Linked DNA regions of Homo sapiens: region 1 is linked to region 2. Evidence: promoter capture Hi-C in 16 types of primary human blood cells and fetal thymus (Javierre and others, 2016). All regions are on one chromosome and are shown on one strand. Each heading gives the region's core, a stretch centred on a gene start or on the middle of the fragment in contact. The rest is flanking DNA. Distances are from core to core; before and after follow the strand shown. Region 1 has its middle 12 kb from the start of TRC-GCA11-1. Region 2 holds the start of ZNF746 (zinc finger protein 746).

The links. The method cuts DNA at HindIII sites, captures the fragments that hold promoters and counts their contacts. A CHiCAGO score of 5 or more calls a contact.
Region 1: a fragment that was not itself captured here is called in contact with the fragment with the promoter of ZNF746 in region 2 in 3 of 17 cell types (neutrophils, monocytes and naive CD8 T cells); the score reaches 9.5 in neutrophils.

Annotation. Positions count from the first base shown.
Region 1 is chr7:149,424,459-149,430,827 of GRCh38, reverse strand. No RefSeq gene overlaps it. Among named protein-coding and RNA genes, the nearest start is that of TRC-GCA11-1, 12 kb to the right of the region's middle. The HindIII fragment of the contact is 5,723 bases long and covers 767-6,369 here.
Region 2 is chr7:149,493,279-149,499,360 of GRCh38, reverse strand. It overlaps ZNF746 (zinc finger protein 746), which reads left to right and starts at 1,552. Exons shown (of 7, transcript NM_001394198.1): 1 at 1,552-1,848; 2 at 4,858-5,157; 3 at 5,246-5,372. The coding sequence starts at 1,825. RefSeq lists silencers at 1,188-1,857, 2,098-2,157 and enhancers at 2,291-3,234, 4,029-5,228. The HindIII fragment of the contact is 2,699 bases long and covers 1-2,581 here.

The DNA of each region.
Region 1 (6,369 bases), core at 2,379-4,878, 71 kb after region 2:
CTGAACGCACTGACGAACCCTGGTTTCTCTAGGTATTCATTCATTTCCCATCTCCCTCCAGCTCTCTCTTATAGAAAGAGAAACTGCAGGAATATTTATTACGTTGCCCACAGAGCGATTTACTCTGCTGATGGGTTTGGCAGTGGCCCAGAGAGAATTCAGGCCATTCGAAGGGATAATTCATGGAGGCTAGCAGAGTGCACAGCTCAGCCTCGCACACTGGGGAAGCTGGGCTGAAAGCAGAGAGACTGGCCTGAGAGGAGAGCACTGCTGAAGCCAGGCCTGTCAAGTTGTGACAAGATACTTGAAGGGGGTTCAAAAAAGGGGATTTGGAGGAAGAAGGTGATACACTCTTGACTTTCAGGAGACCATAGAGATCATCAACTCCCTCTGCTTTGTATAAAGAGTTTGTAAGCTAAGCACAGAAAGGGGAAGTGATTGATAGCACAAGATCTCACATGTGAAGCTTCTCCATTTAGACTGAATTTCTAAGTCGATGATAGGACATATAGGGATGGTGGCCAGAGGAGGGAGCAGAGGTCTGGGCTGGTGTAAAGGACTGAGGGGCAGTTTCCACCAAGACCTGAAGCATCAGCTGCGAGGCTGGTGCAGATACGTGGGCAGGTAGTTCCGTAGTGTGCAGCCAGCTTCACCAGTTGCCAGGCAGAGGGGGCCTGCAGGAGGACAGCTTCCCCCAGGAGGTGGAATCTGAGCTGGGCCTGCGGGATGGAGAGGATTTCCATACATGAGAAAAATGAGGAAAGCTTTCTTGGTGGGGGTGGTCATAAAAGGAAAAGTGTGGAGAGTAGGCTGCATGTAAGATCAGGATGTAAGCAGTGATGGATTAAACCTCAGCTGGATGAAAGGGCCTGTCTAGGAAAAACAGGGCCAAATGTTGGTTTGGAGTAGACTAGGGGTGCAGAAAGGATCTAAGACTTCAAGGCTGCAGACTTTGAATTGGATCTTGTAGGAAAAACCATTGAAGATTGCTGAGTAGGAGAGAGAGATGATACAAATAGCTATCCAGGGACTGAATCTGGTAGAAGGCAAAGAAATCTAACAGTCAGGTGTGGGAGAACCAGCTCAGTTCCACGGACGGGTTGCAGATAACAGAACCCGTGGGTGGAGGTTGAAGGGATGGCAGGGGAAATGGTTCTTTTGAACGTGAGGATATTTGAAGTCTCAAAGAGTTGTTAGTGGAGGAATTTGGGGAGGTATTTGGTAGAGGGCTGTTGCTGCCCTAAATTTTTACTAGCTCTGGAATTGGAGGACCAAAGAGTGCTGGAAATATCCACCCTGAGTGGAGACGGAGGTGCTGTGGGGTAGAATCCATGTGGGAGACTCAGAGAGGAACTTCATTTGTTACATGAAGTTAGCAGGACATTATGGGGTCAAATGAGAATGGTGCTTGAGAGGCTTTCTTTTTCTAGGAAATCTGGGTGGTTTTTGTTTCGTTTTGCTTGTTTTCTGAGACAGGGTCTTGCACTGTCACCTAGGCTGGCATGTGGTGGCACCATCATGGCTCACTCTGACCTCAACCTCTTAGGCTCAAGCAGTCCTCCTGCCTCAGCCTCTCGAGTAGCTGGGGGACTACAGGTGTGCACCACCACACCCAGCTAATTTTTTTTTTAACTTTTTTGGAGATGGGGGAGTCTTTCTGTGTTGCCCAGGCTGGTCTCAAAACTCCTGGCCTTAAGCCATCTTCCCACCTCAGCCTCCCAAAGTGCTGGGATTACAGGTATGAGCCATAGCTCCCATCTGAAATTTGTTTTTTAAAAGGATTAAACCAAATATAGTCAAAGATTGGTATTTCTTTTTCTTTTAACTGACAATTTATTGCACCAACTAGAACAGCCTGGTTCGTGCATCCTTACGTCTCTGTCTATTGGGATACCATTTAAAGTCTTTCAGAACACGTCATAGTATGTCAAGATTGGTTCATCTTACACGTAGCTGGGCTGCCATGACTTCCCTGACTTCTACCTCCCCTTCCTTGGCTCTGACTCCCTCCTCATGCCTCTTCCTAAGTGCCCAGCACCCTGTGCCCCCCATCGTCTCTCCCCTTGTTCTGACTTCTTGCCACCATCTTGAATCTCACTTTCCATTTGCCCTAATCTCTGCTATTGGTTCCTAAAGTGTAGATAGCCTTTGGTGTCAAAAAGACGTGGCTTTAAACTTCATAGTTGTATGGCCTTGAACAAGTTAATTAACAGAACATCAATTTCCTCATCTGTCAAATAGGGATAATAAAGTTCCCATTGTTCTGAGGCTTAAATCACAATAGATACATAGCAAAGACACTGGCAGATACTAAGGTCTCAATAAGAGATTACTAATTTCAAACAGAAGTTCAAGTTGGTAGTGGGCTAGTGTTATATCCTAAAAGAATGAATCTTTGAGAAGGAAATTTCAGTAGGCAAATGTAGATTATTTTGGTGTGAGAAAGTACAAATTAAACCACAACTATATCATGGTCCTTATCTAGGAGTGGACAGGGTTTCAGTTCACCCCTTGGCCACACTCCAGAGTTTGCAGGAGGTAGTACCCCACCTCGCTGAGTTTTCTGGTCCTCTTTCACAGTGCTTTTCTTGGGTGCCCTTAATTTAATTAGACTTGTGAACTCCTAAGTTGCCTGTTGCTGTTGGCCCCATAAAGCTGTGTAGCAGAAGGAATAACTACCATTTATTGAGAGCTTCTTACTTTGGAAGACTTTACATACATCCCTTCATAACTCTGATGTATGTTTCATTACACCCATTTTATAGGTGGAAAGCTCCAGGCTCAGGGAGGTTAAGTAGGCCCAAAGTCACACAGCAACCAAATAGTAGAGCCAGGATTTGAACTCAGTTCTTTGACTCCAAAGCCCATGTGCTTGGCCAAAAAGTTGTTTTCCTGGGGCCAGTATCGTTGTTGAAAAAAGAAAAGCCAGCACCTCTTTTAAATTATTCCATTTTGCCTCCGGATTTTTTGACTGAAGATAAAATTGGGGGAAACAAAATATATTAAACAGAACATGCTCTGTGCATTTGCCAAAATGATGAACACAGTAAGAGGATAAAAAAGAATGTTTGAGGCAGGAAAAAACCCTTAGCGCTGAGCCCTAGCATTTTATAGCTGAGAAATGAAGAGGAGAGGAGTTGGGTCCTCCAAGGTCACAGGTGGGACAGGCAGGGCTGGTGCCGAGGGGATGCTCACTGTCTTACAGCCCTGCACCCCCCCCCCAGTATTTATTAATCACCACTTGTGTGCAAAGAATTGTGCTGGGCTCTGTGGAGAAACACAAGAGGATTAGGAATCCCTGGCTGCCTAGACAGCACTTAGCATCTGGTGGAGACTGGCAGCCTGGTTAAGCCTCTGGGGATCTGGAAAGCTGGGACCATCAGAGAGGCCTTTAGGCGGCTGTCTCTGATAAAGGACCGCATCCCCAGCTTTTCTTCATTCCTCTTCAGTGGATGTAGCCTGAACCAGCCAGGTGTCTGTGGGAGACCTTTCCTGAAGCACTGTGGTGGCAGCTCCTCAGATTAAGGGATCAGGGACAGAGGCCCTCCAGGCCCTACTGTTGCCAGGGCAACATTGAGTCAGGCCAGGGCCTCTCCTCCAGCGCTCTGGAAAGCATTACTGCTGCTGAAGCCTCTTGTTGCTTCCCAGTCATACTGGCAACTTCTAGATGACAATTTGTAAAAAAAAAAAAAAAAAAAAATCAACTTTGCATCTACCATTTCTAGTTGGTTTCCTTGAAATGAGGAATTTTAGTTAAAATATAGACTTTAGCCCTTTTATTTCTGTTTTCTACAAAGGACAGCTCCAGGTTAAATGATTTCTCTAAAAAAAAGAAAGAAAAGGAAGGTGAAAGGAAGGAAAAAAGGGGAAAAGACCAGGATAGAAAGAAAGAAAAGAAAACATTAAACATAGTACTATTGATCGCAACCTTACATGAAAAGTTCTGTTCAGAAGTCAGAACTAGCCATAAGTTTATTAAGGATAATAACTAAAATCACTACAATTCATTGAGTTTTACCATGTTGCAGTCACTGTGCCAGATCATAAACGCTTTCCTTTCATTTTATCTTGCAACAACCTGTGAAATTGGTATCTGTGTCCCCTTGAACAGATGAAGTTCAGAGAGGTTCAGCCATCAGCAGCCAAGGTCACACGGCCAGAATTTAAACCTAAGTGGGTGGGAACCCCAGCTGTGTGCTATTAACCACTGTTACATACTGCCTCCCAATTTCAACATGGATCCTTAATAAAAAGGGCAAAACATGACTATTTCTCTTTGATTTGCAGCTCTCACTGTCTATGGGCACAGCATGTGAGTCTGGACCTGCCTGAAAGCACAGTTCCCTGGCTGCCTGGCCAGCCAAGCCCAGGCGACATTGGGAGACGTCCTGAGGTTCACCTGACCAGGGTAGAATAGGTGTTCCTGGGCACACTGGTGGTTAGAACACCAATCCAGCCCCCGTTTTAGACTGAGTCCTCTATACCTTAGGGACTTTGGGGAGAGCACTGTTATGGCAAGAGGCCACCTTTCTCTGTTTATTTCTGACGTTGGGACCTAAGAAGCCATTTGTTTATCAGTCAGAGGAGTAGTTGCATGAAGGAGATTATTATAAGGAAGAAATACCTGCTCCCTAATAACACAAAATACACCCTTGACTCTAATCCTGCCGGCTCAGTGCTACCTCTAAGTTCTCACCATTCCCTCCCCGCCACTACCGCATGAATGAAACTCACTGCTTCTCTTTGTAAAATAATATCTCAAAATAACTCAAGTATTATAAGACAGGAGCATCACTGCTGTCTATTAATTCAGGTAATGGAAAGTTGAATTTTAATGACAAAATGTATCAGTGAAAATGTCTATCCCTGCTGGTAATTTTATTTAAAGAATGATTATCAGGACAACAGACTGTTTCTTCTTAAAATCAGTATAGTCTAATAAGTATAAAATCTTTTTAAAAATTAAATGCAATCAGCTCTTCATTTACCTGATACACAAATAATCAAATTATGCCCTCAAAGGATTGAAATAGCTTGGATTTAAGCTAAACTCAATTAAGAAAAGTAAACAAGTATGAAAGGTGAAACTTGCCATTTTTCCACAGAAGGTACCAGCCAAGAACTACATGGTCCCATGATCAAATTTGCTGCAGGTAAATTATGCAAATTCTAAAATTTAAGATTAAAAAAATTTATTTATTTATTTTTGAGACAGGGTCTTGCTCTGTCTCAGGCTGGAGTACGATGGTGACATCATGGCTCACTACAGCCTGGACCTCCCACATTCAGGTGATCCTCCCGCCTCAGCCTCCTGAGTAGCTGGGACCACAGGCATGAGCCACCAAGCCTAATTTTCTTATTTTTAGTAGAGACATGGTCTCATCTCACTACGTTGTCTAGGCTGGTCCCAAACTCCTGGACTCAAGCAATCCTCCATAGGCCTCCCAAAGTGCTGGGATTATAGGTGTGAACCACCGCGTCTGGCGTATACAAAAAAATTTCTGCTAGGTGTGGTGGTTCACACCTGTAATCCCAGCACTTCGGGAGGTCTAAGGAGGAGGATCGCTTGAGCCCAGGAGTTTGAGACCACCCTGAGCAACATAGTGAGAATCTGTCTCTTAAAAAAAATTCTGTATATATTTTTCGATTTGGATGATAGTCATCACTATAAATCACATTAATTTTGTCAAAAAGTAAAGACACTAAGTTGGTTCCCATAGTTACCCCCTGAACAATTTAATAATAATGACTGTCCAACTAAAATTTGTATTATTTCTTTCCCACTTTAACCCAGTGGTTCCTTACTGTGTCTTGAATTAATCAATGCCTTACCAAGCCAATTTATCCAGTGATGCATTCTGAAATAAGTTTGGGAAAAAAAAAAAACCTCAAATGTTTCAGAGTGCTGCTAAAAAAGCAAGTCAATATTCAGACCAATTTAAGCCAGTCTCTGGTGTGTTTAATTCATACAGTAGACAAATTGAGAGAAATAGACACATTTTCCTTGCCCAAATTGTTGCCAGCTCTTCAGAGTCTTGAAACAAACGTTAATTGCATACAAACATGCTTGGGTGTTCATTTTACCAAAAAGATGAACTCTTATTAGTATGTAGTAATCACATAACAGAATTCCAGAATCTTATTTAAAATTCTTTGCCCCCAAATGAAAATAGCGTTTTTTTCTGGTTGTAGAAGGAATTTCTATGTTCTAAACAATAAAAACTTACAATTGAATGAGTCCCTTATTTCTCCAAGAGAAGGTATCAAGTCTTTTCCATAACTATGGAAGAAATCAATTTTAACCACCCAGTATGAGGACTTCTAACCATCTCCACCTGTGAAATTACTTGGAAGAGTTCATCCCTTCTC
Region 2 (6,082 bases), core at 303-2,802:
ATGTCTCTTTATTTCTAATGCACTGTATTTCTGTCACCCAGTGGTGTGATCTCCACTCACTGCAACCTCTGCCTCCCGGGTTCAAGCGATTCTCGTACCTCAGCCTCCCCAGTAGTTGGGATTACAGGTGCGTGCCACCACGCCTCGCTAATTTTTTCTATTTTTAGTAGAGACGGGGTTTTGTCATGTTGCTCAGGCTGGTATCAAACTCCTGAGCTCAGGCAATCCACCCATCTTGGCCTCCCAAAGTGTTAGAATTACGGGCGTGAGCCACTGCGCCCGGCCCTAAAATGCTTTATATCTTCCTACATCAATTTTTTTTTGGGCTGTCATCCAGCTCACACCTCTACTACCACCCTCTGGTCTGAAATGCTCTCTGCCTATCAATATTTTGCCAATTCTTCAAGATCCAGCTCAAATTTTATCTATTCTGTAAGGTCTGCCTTCTTTGAAAAAGATTACAGATCTCTCACATATTTTCTTATCAGTGTGTGCTAGGCAGTTGGCTAGTTAGTCTTGGGGAATACACAGATGAGCAAGTCGTGTTCCTGAAAGGCAATGAGCCTCTGAAACTACGTGGGGGCCCGTCCAAGGCGCCCTCCTTCCCCTGCTCTGGTTGGCCTCTTTGAGAACATTTAAATTTTTATTTTTCTCTCCTTGTTTAAAAATACTATCCTTGTCATGGAAAAATAAAAACATGAATTGGAAAAAATTAGAAAAGGCATAAAAACGGCCCGTGGTCTATTAAAGGAATAGACCTTTAATAGAACTACTGAGGCCATGTTGATATATATGCTTCCAAACTTTTCAAAACTGTAATTATACATGTACGCAGTATATGACGCTACATATGTCCTATATTGTTTTAAAATGTTATTTTTAAAACAAAGACAGGATCGTCCTGGACAGGCTTTTTCTCTTAAAACATCATGAACATCTGTTCCTACCAAGACCTTCACCGAAATCATTTTAAATGATGGTATTGCGTCCCATTGCTCATGCCATTAAAAAAATTTACTGTAATAAACCCATTACAGAAAATGCTAAGTGGTTGCCTACCGGGGTTTACCGAACTATATTCCTGTTGTTGGAAGTATTTATTCCATTTCAAACACAGGTGGGCATGAGTTACATCTGTCCTCCCCAAAATAGCCTAAACCTCCAGACCCAGGACCTCGGGCAGCAGAAGTGCCCGTGGGGCGGGGGAAGGGGAGCCGGGCATCCCAGGGCGAGGGGGCCGCCCTGGCCGCGGTCACCCGGGGGACGCCCTGCCCGGAAGCCCGTGCTCGCCCGCGGGCGCGGCCAGGCGGGTCCCATGAGGGGGACCCTTTCAATAACCGAGTCCTCGGGCTGGGCCGCGGGGCCAGCGCAGTGACTCCCCCCGCGCTCGGCAGTCCGGCCGGGGTCGCGGGGTCGCGGGGTCGCGGGGTCGGCCCGGGGTCGCTAGGTCCTCCCGTCGGGCCCCGCGGGCGGGGCTGGGCGGGGCGGGGCGGGGCCGCGGGCAGGCGGGCGCAGCGCCTGCCGTTCGCCTCTCAGGCTGCAGGTGGGGCTGTGCGGCCGCGCTGCCTCCAGGAAGCCTCACGGGCCTTCGTCTGCCGGGCCGCGGCGCCGGCTCCCAGGATGCAGTGTGGACCGGCCGGGCGCTGACGGAGGCGGCGCGACTGCGGGCGGCGCGGCGCAGGGGCAGCCAGCGAGGAGCGGCGGCAGAGGAAAGGCCAGGCAGGCGCCGCCTGCGGAGAGCACCGGGCGGCCGGGCCTGCGTGGTGCCGCGCGCGGCGGCGGCGACGACGACTTCCTCCGGGCCGGGCGGGACAGCGCAGGGCCATGGCCGAGGCGGTCGCGGCTCCGGTAAGGGCGACCCGCGCGCGCAGGGACTCGCGGCCTGGGGGCCCCAGGCGGCCCGGCCCCGGCACACGGCGCCGCAGGCCCTGGGGAGGGGTTCCGGGGTCCGGGCCGGACCACCGGGCCTGGGGCTCCCGCGAATGGGGCGCGGGGTCCGCCGGGGCCTACTGCGCCCGTCGGCCGGGCCCCCACTCCGAGCCGAACCCGAGCGCTGGCGGAACGGTTGTCCCCGCCCCGGGCCGCCCCACGCCAAGTTCTTTGGGCCCTCCGGGGCTTCCTGCCCCCGCCCCAGCCGCTGTCCCCTCCTTCTGGGTGCCCCCCCACCCGCGGCTCCTTTCTCTGCCTGGCGCTCGGCCTGTAGGTCCCTCTCCATCTCCCCCGCAGCGGCCTGGTGGCACCTGGGAGGTGTCCGGCTTCGAATCCGCATACACCGACTCCCACTACGTGCCCAGCTTCCCGGGGTCGGCGCGGAAGGGAATATAGAGCCACGCACTTCCACAAGCCCTGTTGAGGCGTTAGTCTGTCCTCACAGCAAGCCTGTGGGATGGGTACTGGTGTTAATCTCTGTCATACAAAAGAAAAACCCGGGGCCTAGAGAACTTAACTTGCCCAGGCTTACCCAGCTGGAAAGTGTGAAAAGACACACAGTGGCTGTGTGTTCAAGGACCAGGCAGGCAGGTACGCGGGCAATAATCGTGCAAAACAGAAAGGGGTGAGTGCTGGCGCCCAGGTGGAAGCTTGCGGTGGGCTCCGGGGGAAGGAGTGTCAGGGGGCCTCTTGGTACCGCTGTCCACCCCTCCTGGCCTGATGCTCTGCGCCTCTGTGATTTGAGCCGGGCTTTTAGGGAAGGCTAGGATTTCAGGCCCAGCTAGACCGGTGGTGCTTTCAGGGAGGGAGGAGTGCCTGGGCAAAGGCGCAGAGAGACGGGACAGTGCAGGGCGTGTGCAGGCACAGAAAGGAGTCCATGAGCCTGGAGAAGATGGTTTTGGTTTGGAGGCAGTGGGAAAGGAGTCTGCAGAGAGAGACTAAGAAGGGGTTTGCATGCCTGGACTTCATCCTGCGGGTGGGCAGTGGATGAGGGATCCGGCTCCTCTTACCATCAGCTCCTCTCAAGCAAAGAGTTTCAGCTCCCCTGGCAGGAGTCCAAGGACAGCCCCACATATTCCAGCCACTTGTCAGTAAGAAGCTGGGCTGGAGTGAGCAGCGCACAGTCGCCACCTCCCACCACATAGTGTGAAGACCTTACACAGGGTTTCCTGGCCCCATCAGAACTGTAAGAAAACCATGCACCTTGTTGTCCATGAGTAAAAGACTAATATTTTCTTAATAAAGTAGTTTAGCAGAGGTCCCTTTCATGCCACACAAAGCCCATAATAATGCACGTGGAGGATGGGTAGGATTTCAGTGGATAAGGAGCTGGTGACCAGTTGAAAGGAAGCTTCTGGAGTAAACTCTTGGCGTCTGGGATCACGTGACAGGGATTGATCTGAGAAAGGAGAGGTGAGGGAAGGAACAGTGGCCTTAGGTGGAGGGTGGACTCAAGCCCAGAACCACGCTGGCCCACCCAGGTGCTGTAGGACCACCTACTCCTTGAGAGCAAGACTCCCACCCGCATTGGGGTTTTCGCCTAGAAACAGTTCAGCTTGTCCAGAATCTCCCAGCCTTGAAGACCCCTTAGAGTCCTACCTTCTTTGGGTCCTGCTTCCTTCCAAATAGATAGTATCTTAAGCACTGTCCTAGACAAGTTTGTTTCTCCCTCTGCTCAAACTCTCCTTTTGTCTCTATTTTTTGAGCTGTCCATCCGCATTCTAGTTCTCAGTGACTTTCTCTAAGTGAATCCACACTGGTTTCTAGTAGCTACTTCTTCATTTTGGAAATAATCACCAACCTTTTGTTGAGGAATTATTTTGCAGAATGTTGTAAGGAGGCGTTGATCCTCAGGTCCCGATACCAGGAGCTCCTCTGTGCCCTGTAGGTCCCACATTCAGATGTGGGTGGCTCAAACAGTCCAGCTCCCTACCCACCGCAAAATGTGCCCATTCTTCCTTGTCCCAGCTGCCGGTCACTGATACGCCATGTGAACATTTCCAATGACAGGGAAGGCCCCCGTCTCTAATTAAGATGGTTGCTGTCCATATACAAGTCTAACTGTGGCATATATGTACTTTCCTCACCAGACTGCAGGGTATGTCACTGCTCCTGGTACAGCTACAAAAATGTCGGAGGCCGTCATTTTTACCTTGAGGGGGTGGGAATTGGGAAAGAGAAAGAATCTTGTAGGGCTCAGGCAGTGTCAAAAAGCCTAACTCTGGACTGATGGAGATTTGCAGTCATGGGGATTTTAGCTTGTGGGGGAGGGGCAGATGGGAAGGTGACAAAATGAGACTGTCCTGGGGGAAGAGGAACTGGCCATTAGATTTTTATGTTTGTTAAAAGGGGACATGAGATGCTTTAAAAAACAAAAAAAGAAAAAAGAAATTGAGCAATACTCTTGTTTGTGCCGTTTCAGTGAACCAGCTGTTTTTTTTGCTGGGTCATCATCAGTAGACAGTTCCTGTGTAATCATGAGGGGAGGTGCAGGCTGCGCTCTAGTAAATCTGCAGTTTACCATTTCTCCACTAAAATGCCCAGCAATGCTAAGTCACTGTTTACGTAACAAAATTGCACTGGGTACCTGCCATGTGTCAAGGACAGTGGTATGAAAAGATGCAATACCATGTTCAGGGAGCCCACAGTGTAGGTGTGGGTAGGAAATTATTGTGTAGGGTGATAAGCACCGTGATAAGGGTCTGCATTGTGCTGCAGAGGCCTGGAGTAAAGGCACCCACCCAGACATAGACCTAACATACCCAAGCAGGTGATGGCCAACCTGAGATCTGGCATGTGGTATAGGATAGCCCCACTTGTCCACACATATGGACTCCCAGCCCAACTCCCCCGTGCCTAGGGAGAGAGGGGCTCAATGAAGACAGTGGATGGAATGAGTGATGCCAGTTTCTCTTTTGTTTCTGAAAGATTTCTCCGTGGACGATGGCAGCCACGATTCAGGCCATGGAGAGGAAGATTGAATCGCAGGCTGCTCGCCTGCTTTCCCTAGAAGGTCGAACCGGGATGGCCGAGAAGAAGCTGGCTGATTGCGAGAAGACAGCCGTGGAGTTCGGGAACCAGCTGGAGGGCAAGTGGGCCGTGCTGGGGACCCTGCTGCAGGAGTACGGGCTGCTGCAGAGGCGGCTGGAGAACGTGGAGAACCTGCTGCGCAACAGGAACTTCTGGATCCTGCGGCTGCCCCCGGGCAGCAAGGGGGAGTCCCCTAAGGTAGCCCTGGGACGCCTTGGGGTGTGGGAGCCCAAGCGGCCAAACCCGTGAGCGTGTGGGTGAGCGAGTGTGACACTTGTGGTTCCAGGTGCCCGTGACCTTTGATGATGTGGCCGTGTATTTCTCCGAGCAGGAGTGGGGCAAGCTGGAGGACTGGCAGAAGGAGCTCTACAAGCACGTGATGAGGGGCAACTACGAGACGCTGGTCTCCCTGGGTAAGGCCTGACACTCATTTCTCTGTTAAATGGGATTTTGCAAGTCCTCAGAATTCTCCCTCCACATAGTTGTTTTCATGTCAGTGTTATATAAATCACCAGAAACATTGTTGACCTTGCAAGTTGTTACCTTTTGTGAAGGATGAGCCCTGGGTGATGGAGTTAAAAGCTCCCTTCTCCCTGTGTTGAGTTTCCCAGAATGCCAGTCTGGGAACGGCGGTGGCTTCTCTCCTACGCAGGCCCGGGATGTGGACCTTTCTGTTCTTGCTGACTTGGAGCGGGGAAGGCCCCATCTGCTCTCAGATCCAGTATGTAATTGACTCACATTTGAGAAAGACTCTTTCCTTCAGCCTTCTCCTACAAACATGCGTGGCCCTTACGGCAACATGCCTCGAGGTCAGTGGAGAACATGGGCAGACGGTGCTGCTTGCAGCAGACATTTTCTTCATGCCTCAAAACTTTGCTTCCCTCAGCCCCTGGGGCTACTGCTCTTCTCCTTGTTTAATCCTGCCCAGGAAGGGCCTGGACTCTGTTTCTTCCTGGGCTGGTTTTCTCTTCCTAATGGTTTCTGTGTGACCCCGGAGCCGAGGGCAGTGAGACCTGTTAGAGAGGGCAGGAGCAGGTGCAGACGTGAGGTTGTTTCGTCAGCACAAGTGCACTGCTGTTTAACGTGCACGCTCTGTGGCAGTTTCTTCACCCCGGCACTGTGG